2 separate regions of the Homo sapiens genome follow, and region 1 is linked to region 2. Evidence: promoter capture Hi-C in human tissues and cell types (Jung and others, 2019). All regions are on one chromosome and are shown on one strand. The core of a region is centred on a gene start or on the middle of the fragment in contact, and the rest is flanking DNA. Distances in the headings are between cores, read along the strand shown.

Region 1 (5,140 bases), core at 357-2,856, 600 kb before region 2:
AATGGTAGAGAGGAAAAAAAGCTAAAGTTGAAACTAGCAAATCTTTTCTTCAGAAAAGCAAGCTGAAACTTTGGTTGAGTAAATAAAACCTGCTATAGCTTATATTAGAAAAGCACATAGGGAGAGTAACCAAAATAAAATTTGCATCTAAGAGTTATCCATTAGTTAGAGGTTTGTATTTATCATTTTCAGGCTTTGAGTTATATGGTGCTTGTGTATTTTCAAATCTTTATTTGCAAATTGCAGTGCATATGGTGTAGTGGGGAGAACAGTGGGCCTAGCACATAGAGGGGCCCCAAAAAATCTCAGGTAAAAGAATAAAAGTCAAGTAACAAGAAGATTGTCCAAGTATCACTTATGTATAACCTTGGAAAAATGATGTAACCTCTCAGAGCCTCAAAATCCCATTTTGTAAGATGCTGTCTGCCCAACTCAAGAGGGTTATATAAAACCCAAATGACATAATGCATATTAAAAATATATATATTATAAAGCCAAATTAAATGTGAAGTATAATAGTAATATTTTGTAACAGAATTATGAAACTCACTAAGTTCTTATTTAATAAATATCTATTATATATACTATATGTGATTTTTTGTTTTCCTGACTTTTGATATTCTGCAGTTTAAAAAGATGGATACACTTCACTGTAAAATTTTAAATGGAAAAAATGTTTTAAAAAATTGAAATTCCTTTACCTGATCCCCATTCCAAATACATTCTCAGAGACAAATCCAGTTGACAGTTTGATATATAATCTTACTGATCTCTTATAGCAGGTATGCCATATAAGTTGTATATATTATTTTTACAAAAATGCAATTACACTATACATATTGCTCTGCATTTCTCAGTAAACAATATCTGATAGATACCCTTTGATCTCAGCACATATAGATCTGCCTCATTGTTTTTAATGGCTTCATAATATTTCATAATGCCATTATTTCTCAATAATTCACAGCAGATGACTAACAGCAAAATTGATTGCATCATTTTAAATAGGTTAATGGTGTGGCTAAAGAATCATTACTTTTTCAACAGAAATGCCATTTTCATGATTGGCATTTCTAAATCCTTCAGCGTCAGAGAAGATTCTAGAACTTCTCATTTGTGGCTAGTTTCAGGGTAGAACAGCTCTTCTTCCTTGTGTCTCACCTGAATATCTGCTGTTCAGATATTGTAAGACTGTTTACAAAATATGATTTGGCAGAGTTTCCTGGATAATGTTTTGGGCAGAACAATCAGTCCTGGTTCCACCTGTTATGATGTTAGGAAAAAGTCATTAAACTTCTCAGTATTGTGCCTTTTTCTTCTTACACAACAGTGTTCCAGAGCTGCTCTTAACCCCTTCATGGGATTAGTGTGAGACTCAAGGAAGTCATGGAGGTGAAAGCCACTGGGCACCTAGAGAGATGCTACAAGGATCCAAGAGGCCATCTTGATTCCACAGTTAAGAATGCCTTGGGAGCTATTTGTCCCCATCCTCTCTCTGTGAGCGCACATTTAATCGCTTTGGAAACCCTATAAGACAGGCATTGGTATCTCCAGGTTTTGTAGATGAGAAAGTGAAGCTTCGGGAAATTAAGAAGACTACCTAAAACCCTATTCGTCTTAAATGGCAGTGGAGGGCTTTAATCCCGAATCTACCAGCTCCACATTCTGTGTTTATTCAACTAAGGAAACCAAGTCTCCAATGGTCACAGAATCAAGGTGGCTTTCATCTGGCAGTGGTTTCAGGTGAAGTTCCTGGAATCTTACTCTTGGCTGATGGCAGTGCTTCCTGTCCATGGCTTACATCGAGCCCAGAGTATATTTCTCAGTGTGAAATGTGTTCAGGGTCTTCAGGAGGAATAAGCTGGGTACTTACAAGTTTTTATCACATTATGGCCATTCTCATTCACATTAGAGTTAGGGTGGCCCAGCATATGAATTTGAGGGGTTCTGTGGAGCTTTCGTTTCTCAAGTGGGCTTTGCCAAGCACAATGAAGAGGGCAATGTCCTATTGCCAAAGTGTACCCTTCTGGGGCTACATAAGCCTGATGAAAAGTCATGAAGCAATGTGTGGAGCTGCATGGTGGAATGAGAGGCAGTGTTTTGCATTAATTGAGAAGAAGCTATTTCTTTAACTCCCCTCCAAAAACACCTGTCATTGAAGACATTTTCTAGGTTTCACAAGGCAAAGAGATTCCCTAGACATTTTCTAGGTTTCACAAGGCAAAGAGATTCCCGAGAGACAATCTGGTTGTTTGAGTGCCCACCACAGGCCTGTTAACAAGGGAAATAAAGGGTCTTCCTTGCCAGGCATGCTGATGCTGTGAGCTTCTTAACTGAGTCCAGTTGTTCTGTAAAATTCTGAGAAGGGTTGTGAAAAGGGTGATTACTCAGGTCTCACTTCCCTGAGGTGAGGAGGACACATACTGACAATAGCCCAAGAGGATTCTAGCACAAAAAATCCAAAAAGGGCAAGCAATGACCCTGGTTATTCCTGCTGATGACGCCTCACACAGAGGACTCACTCTGAGTAACAGCAATAAAATTGACAATAGAATTTTACTGTCACAATGTGAGAGTTGCCTTTATAGATCATTTTATTATTTGTTCATTTTCAGAAAAAATAGATTGGGCCAACTTCTGAAAACAATATTACTATTTTTCCTAGATGCACTCCAAATTTAGGGTTGCCAGGCTGTCAACTGACCTGCAGCCTTTGACACAGTGAGCATGGAGCAGTGGGACCCAGATTAGTGATGCCTGCTTGTGGCTGTCAGGGCCTGTCATCGTGGGTGGTTAGGCTTCCAAGCCTCCCAGGCAATCCGTGAGACATGGACTTACCTCAAACCACCCACGCTTGTCTGGCTCCTGCAGGTTGGCATGCTTTGACAGCCACTGGGTGCCTGGGCCACCAGGAAGTCCTGCTGCTGCTCTGCCACTGGCACTGCCTCTCCCCATCCTCATCTACATCCATAGAGATGGAAGTGATTTGCATGGGAATCCCACCCTGTTCATCCTCTAAATTCATGTGCATTCTCAGGAGCTAAACAAGCAAAGGACTGTGTTCTCACCTGTATCATTTGTTCATGTAACAAAGATGTTTAGAAGACTGTTGATTATCACCCCCTCCAGTCATCATTCTCACACTAATCCTAGCAGTTGGTGATCTGGAGAACGTTCTCAATCTTCTTGAGTTTTACATTTCCATCCTCGAAAGAGGAAAGTGCCTCACAATGTTGTTCTGAGGTTTATGTAATTCTCTGAAAGTGTTTATAAAGTTTAACAACATAAGTTGTTTTTTAGTGGTACTAACAACCAACTAGTATTGGATTTGCCCCATCCATCCAATATTGTATTTACACAAAGTAGAGATTTTACCAAAGAGAGTTATGCAAATCTCTGCTCTATTTGCTGTATCTTTGGGGAGATCTGGCTTTCAAAATATCAAAACAGGAGAATATTGCTTCCAACCACTGATTCCTCTGGCAGACTTTTCACCTAGAGGGAACGATCTGTCCAGATCAGTTTAAGCTGACTTGGAGCTTTTTCTCACCTTCTCTTAGATTCCATCTCTGTGAGAAAGAACCATTGATGGGCCAAGCTGTGTGTGCTCAGTTGAGAATGTTGATTCCCAATACTTACACTTCACCCCCATGAAACTCAACCCTCGGGGATATTCTCCCAATGTATCAGCGAACAATTCTGGATGGAATAAGTCAGCATGTTTTGGTCCTCTTTCTTTTAAACCTACCTTAATGATCTGAACCCTTTTTATGAGCTATCTACTTAACAGTCATGATAGTAGGTTAAAAATAATCTTAATGAAAAAGAAGATATTTTATTGTCACAATGTAAAATTTGCCTTTGTAAATCTTTATCTATTCATTTTCAGAAAGAATAGATTGGACCAATTTCTAAAGCCAAAAGTATTATTTTTCCTAGATGCATCCCAAATTTAATTGATGTAAATTGATATCCAACAATTTTATATGTTTAGCAACTTGGACAATTTTACAGAATGTCATTTAAAAGTGGAATTCTCTAGAAAAGCTCCAGTGGAAATGGCATGGTGTTTTATTATTTGATGACGCTATTTTTGTATATGATCCTATTCCCCGTTGTGCTTTGGATTCTGGTTGAGATTTCAGCGTTGATTTATCAACTTTCTGGTACCCTCTGCTCGACATGTTCTGTTTGCTCCTCTGGATCCACTGCCTCCCCTTCCCCGTTCTTCCTCTGCTCCTGGAGACAGATGGGTCTGTGTAAATAATATCAATGGCTCGCACTCCCTTTGGCTTCCAGTTCTCTTTGGGCAAATGGGAAGATGCAGCAGGAGATGAGAAAGAGGAAAGAGAGTGAATTCAGAGAATGTGTTTCCCCAGTCCTTCCCCGTGAGGTCACCTCCGGCTAGTTGTGCGTCTCAACAGAGACCTGTGGTCCTCTCAAGGCAGTGTGCTCTACAGGACTCTCTCTTCAGGGTTCCAGACCCCACCCTCCTCAGGCCTAGAAGTAATATCTCTTAAAGGTCTCCTACAATCCCACTTTTGTAAATAGTCTTCAAAATAAATGTTTCTTACATTACCCTATTTTGAATGAACCATCCATTCTAAGATTTTGATTGAAACAGACTCTCTCTCTAGTTCACATCTTTGTATTTTTTCTTTTATTCTGACTTAATCTTTCTCTTATAAATTCTCTCTTTTTCTTTTTTTTTTATTGTATTTTTTTTTTTTGTAGAGGTGGTGTCTTGCTCTGTTGCCCAGACTGGTCTCAAACCCCTGGCCTCAAGTGGTCCTCCTGCCTCAGTCTCCCAGAGCACTAGAATTATAGGCATGAGCCACTGTGTCTAGCCCCTTTTTATTTTTGAAATAACCTTATAAATATTTTGTTTTAGTCTTGCTTTTAGGGGAGGTGAGATATAAACAAGAAATAAAAAGAAATAAAATTTTATTTATTATTTGGGACTTAAGACACTTCGAATCTTTTGAAAGACAAGGTAGAGATGAGCACCTCAATTTAAAGATATTCAAGGACATCATCATTACCACCATCAACAAAAACCATGTAGTATTCTTTTAATATAATCTAAGCTCTGGAATAAGCAATTCATATCCACCATGGAGGCCTCAAAGTGATGTCATGA
Region 2 (5,390 bases), core at 168-2,667:
AACATATATTTACCATATGACTCCACAATCTCATTCATATTTACCCAAGAAATGAAAACATATTCACACACACAAAAAAAAACCTGTACATGAATATTTATACCAGCTTCATCAATAATAGCCAACAACTGGAAAGAACTCATCCAAATATGCCTCAAGTAGGAAATGGATAAATATACTACCGTAGATCCATACAATGGACTATTACTCAGCAACATAAAGGAACAACTGATACACAGAACATGAATGAATAGCAACTGCATGATGCTAAGCTGAAAGAAGCCTGATTCAAAAGGCCACAGGGTGTTTGCTTCCATCAATATGACATTCTGGAATAGGCAAAATTACAGGAACAAAAAACTAGGAAGTTGTTGCCAGGGATGGCGTTAGGGGAGGGATTAAATACAAAGAGCACTAGGGAATTTGGGGTTCATGATGAAACTTCCGTATGCTGATTGTGGTGGTTGGTAATTACATAACTGTATACATTTGTCAAAACTCACAGAACTGTAGATTAAATGGGTGAGGCTTACCATAAGTAAGTTATACCTCAATTTTAAGTTAATATATTTGTGCCAATCTTTCTTTAGTTATGCTCATACATCCATAAAATATATTAGAATTGCTGAGTCAAAGAACACTTATGTTTCAAATTTTGGTAGTTCGCCAAATTGTACTCCAAAAAGGCTGCACCAAATTACACTACTTCCCCTACACTGGGCTGGGGCCCATCTGGTTATGTCAAAGCTGTTTCATCTTCTCCAGTCTCATAGGTGTAAAAGGTATCTGTGAATTTGGTTTACATTTCTTCACGAGAAAAGTTGAGTCTCTAATCAATTGTTTGCTGTTTGCATCTTTTTATTTTTCCTGTGAAATGCCTATTTGCATCCTTTGCCGTTTACGGTCTAGTTTAAATGGCTGGTGATCAGTTCTAGATCTTGGTGGGAAGATCCAAATCTCGGGAAAGTAGAAGCCTTGGTTACAGGTCCTAATGTTAGGTGATTCCTGGAGAAATAGCCTCCGCGGAGGCAGAAGCCGCTGGGGCCCCGCCCCCAATGAGCCCGCCCCCGCCCTCTCATTGGCCCTGTCCGCTCTCCCTGACAGTCCATCTACATGCCAAGCGGCCCGACGCAGCTCCGCCCCGCCCACTCCTCGGCGCACCGCCCCGCGACCGAGCTCCGCCCTCATCTGCGCGGCCCCTCACCTTCCCGCCGGGCCTCCTCGAGGAACTGGCCGCCGTCAGTCAGGGCGCAGATGGCCGCAGAAGCGCGCCGCAGACACTCGCCGCGCCAGCCACTTACCCCCAGAGGAGAGGGGTCTCTCCCGCCACCTCAGCCTCTCTGGTAGTGGAAGAAGCCGCCGGTCCAGATCCCTCCTGCCTGTGGGACCGCTGTTTCCCTGGCAACCAGATGCGCGATGCTTCCGGTCTCGCGATAGCGGAAAGGGCTGTACCATCCGGAAATGGGACCGGGGCCGGCGGCTGTTGGAGCCCTGCGAGCTGGGACGGCCGGCGTGTGTCCTTCCGTCTTCGCTGCCGACGGTGGGGGTTGGGAGCGATTTTTCGTCTTTAGGTTGGATTCGGAACGCGGACGTCTGGATGCTTGTGTATCTCTGTCCCTCATATTGCTGTGATGCCTTACAGGTCAGTTATCCTCTCCGAGCACAGTTTCCTCCTCCGTAAAATGGGAACAATAATAATTCCCTTCTTACAAGACTTGTGCAGCTCAAAAAGACCATGTATGTGAAGCTCTAGTAAATTTGGGGTGCTATGGAAATTTTAAAAATATGAGTTTTGCACAGATTCGGCTACAGTCCAAAAAGAGTTATAATTGCTTTTTGCACCTTCTTTCATTTCGTAGTTTCTCTAATTCTCAGTGCACGAAAATTATTTCCCTACGTCCACAAACTGATTTTCCTCACCTCCATTGCCATCATTTCTCCTGCTTTCCAGTCTGAACAGCACATTACCGTTTACAGGGCATTTTCACATTCATGGCCCCTTTGTCCTCATTGTTTTAACTAGGTACGATGTGGTTTTTTTTCAGCGAAGCAAATAGTCGTAGGCTGAGTTGCCGAAAGAACACAGCTGCAGTCTAGGCGAGTGCTGGGTATAAAAACCTGGCTATAAATGCCATCCCTATGCTCCTGAATCCTGCATCTTATCACCAGCCCAGACTTCCCTGAACTCCAGACTCCTTTACCTAACTGCCTATTTGGCATATCCACTTAGATGTGTAAGCATCTCAAACTTAACACGGGAAAAAACAACTTCTCCAGAGTCCCCCACCCACTTTCTATCCATCTCAGCAAATGGTAATTTCAGCCTGCCATGCCTAGACCAAAAACCTTGGAGTCATCCTCAATTCTTCTTCCTCTCTCACTCTACAATCTATTTGTCCTATCAGCTCAACATTCAAAATATATTCAGAATCCAAACATTCGTCACAACTTCAGTGCTTCCATTCAGGTTCATACTGACATCATCTCTAAATGATAAGGCTTTCTGTTGGCTCTCTGACCTCCACTCCTACCTACTGCTTTCCCCTGGTAAACCTGGTTCCAGCCTCACTGTCCTCATTGTTAGTGTTTCTGTGCAGGGATTTCTTCCCAGCATTTCTCAGGGAATTTATGTGGCTTTCCAAATCTCAAAAGAAAAAAAGTTGCAAACTGAAGAAAATGGGAGAAAGTATCCTAATCCTCCTATGAGAATTAAAACTTAGCAGCCGACCTAGAGATGTTACTGAAGAAATTCACCAATGTCAAGTTGAAAACCAGCACAGGAAATGCTGAGTTCGAGGTTGAGGTGAACATTTTCAGGAACCAGGTCAGGAGCACTTGGGAGAGACATGGCCACAATCTCATCAGTCAGTCTTGTTTGTAGTTGGTGCCATGAAAGCCTATGTTCCTGGCCCTGTGTGCCGCTGGCAGTGAGTCATTCTTGCAAATAAAATATAAATAGGTTGATACTCATTGTATACTTTATACAAATTCTATGAGCAGTGTTCAAAAAAGTAACGGGTTTTGGATTCAAAGTAAATCCTTAAATTGACAGTTTCCAACCCATGATTCTGGGTAGTACAGTTAACCCTGCTAGGAGATCTATTATTTGAATACTCCTCAATAATGTTCTCTGTGTTTTCCAGCATTTGAATATTTGCTATAAACCCCACTTCTTGTAAACACTTCTAAATTTAATAGTTCTCATTTTTTAAACAAAGGCTTCAGATACTTGTAATAATGAGTAAAGAATATGAAGAAGGTAGAGAATATTTTAAGAATAAGATTTTGAGAACAGCTGGTAATTCTGATTTCCTGTTTCTGCATCCCAAAGATCAGTATCTGTCAGGAATTTGGAAACACTTGTTGTTCCTCCAGTCCAAATACACACACACACACACCAGCCTGAAATACAGTTTCCCAGCTATCCACCTGGTTTGCTCCTCTCTTTCCTCAGGCGTCCGCTTCCTCAGGAGGGCCTTTCCCAACCACCCTGTATAAAATAATTATCCCCATCTCCACACTCCCTACCCTCTGTCCCCTCAACCCTGCTTTATTTTTTTATGAAGAAGAGAGATGACATTATTTGGATTTTGATATTAAACAGCTAGGTTATCTTAGGTAAATACATAAGCTTTTGTGGGCCACAGTTTCTTCATTTGAAAAATGAAGTTGGACTAGTTTTGCAGTGCTTAACTGCACAGAGCATTAGAATCACCTGGGGAGACTTCATAAACTACACAACCAGGGGTGTACCTGAGATCAAATGAATCTAGGCCTTCTCAACTTTAATGTGCAGACAAATCACCGAGGAATCTTGTTAAAAATGCTGATTCAAAAAAAAAAATGTTGATTCAGTATCAGGTGAGACCTGAGACTAACAGGCTCCTAGATGATGCCAATGCTCCCCGTCCACCGACCGCTGTTTACCTAGCGGCAAGACGAGATCATTGCCAAGTGCCTGCACGGTTCTCATACACCATAAACGAAGGCCATTCTTTCCAGTTTTTAATTTGGTGACTAATAGTGTCCACTAAGAAAACAATACCTTCCCAATTTCTCGGGGGGGGAAGGGGCTGAACTAAGAAAAAGCGGACCTATGATTACTGCTGTTTTCATTTTTTTAACTGTTGTTTTTAAAATGCAACATAAGATGCATATAAAGCAAGTGAAAATAAAATTCGGGTTCCACGTAAACTTTGTGTCTCTTCACTGTTTGTAACCTTTCCAGACTAAGTCCCTATTGACTATATTTGCATAAAACTATTTATCTCATTTTGAATTGTTTTGTCTCTGTGTCACTCTCACGTGTTTATTTACCTCCTGCTGCTTCCATTTTGTAAACTGCCGAGAGGCTGTGTGTGCCTTAAGGGCCAGCTTTAATAAATTGCATTTGTTGTGTATTTGTTTTTAATTTCCCCAGATACTTCTGTGTCAGCTATTGCAGGTGACACCCTCAAAACAGCACGGGGATATAAGTCCGAGAGCACCAAATGTCTATACTGTGTTTTCTGCAGTTCCATTTTCAAAAATCGCAAACACATCCTGGAAAGTGTTGTGCCCTTCAAAGTCATTCATAAAAATTTCTTCTAGAGTCAAGATATTTGAAGCTAAAATTTCCCTGGTCTCATTCCAGGTTGGTGACATATGGCAGTGGCAGTGTTAGTTTCGGAGTTAGCTTTTGTTTTTGTTTGCAGTCTCTCCCTACTCTTGACATCCTCCTTCCGAGTGGAGTCAGATTTGAATGAATGAAAGCGAGCAAGAGCATTGTTTGCCATCTGGGCACCAACTACCATTTCAGCCTTGTTGCCCCGGTTGCCCTTTCCTCACCATAAACTTCAACCGAATGTAACAATATGGTAGGAGAGGGATCTCATTAAGCCTCATATCGTAGATTCTACACACTGGATTTTGTGTATAATAGCCATTCCTACTGGAGAGCAGATAATAGTGTTTACCACTGGATAGTTCCCATGTCCTGTGAATCTATGCTTAGTGTTATTGAAAAACTGCATTTACAAAGTGTTTCAGACTTGCCTTCCAAGCATCATTTCACTTCATTCATAACATTCTATGAGTCGGCACTAGTATTACCTGGATTTAGAGTTGAGAAGCAGAGCACCTAAAGGGTAAGTAATTGTCCCAAGGTCGTTGGGGAACTAACTGGCACCGGGATTCCAACCTAGGTTCCAAAGCCTGCCCTCCATCTCCTCAGGGGTCCGAATTCTAGAAGAGGAGATATTTGTGTCCACTAGATGGTGCTGATTGTCCTCTTAAAAAAAAAAATTGGCAGCCACTTTCAGAAACACGTTCCTTTGGATTTTAGGTGTAATTCAAGAAACCACTGAACTGAAGTATCTTGTATGTCTGAATTGTGCCTGGATGCATCTTTA

The links. The method cuts DNA at HindIII sites, captures the fragments that hold promoters and counts their contacts. A contact is called where the count stands out against the background at its distance.
Region 1: a fragment that was not itself captured here is called in contact with the fragment with the promoter of FSIP1 in region 2 in 3 of the 25 tissues and cell types used here (IMR-90 fibroblasts, hippocampus and lymphoblastoid cells).

The regions. Positions count from the first base shown.
Region 1 is chr15:39,182,396-39,187,535 of GRCh38, forward strand. All of the region lies in intron 1 of LOC105370777 (a long non-coding RNA gene), which reads right to left. Among named protein-coding and RNA genes, the nearest start is that of LINC02915, 66 kb to the right of the region's middle. The HindIII fragment of the contact is 5,782 bases long and covers 1-4,497 here.
Region 2 is chr15:39,781,424-39,786,813 of GRCh38, forward strand. FSIP1 (fibrous sheath interacting protein 1) reads right to left here and starts at 1,418. Exons shown (of 12, transcript NM_152597.5): 1 at 1,205-1,418. It overlaps LOC105370941 (a long non-coding RNA gene), which reads left to right and starts at 1,483. Exons shown (of 1, transcript NR_135665.1): 1 at 1,483-4,194. RefSeq lists a silencer at 1,048-1,227 and an enhancer at 1,528-1,657. The HindIII fragment of the contact is 15,521 bases long and covers 1-5,051 here.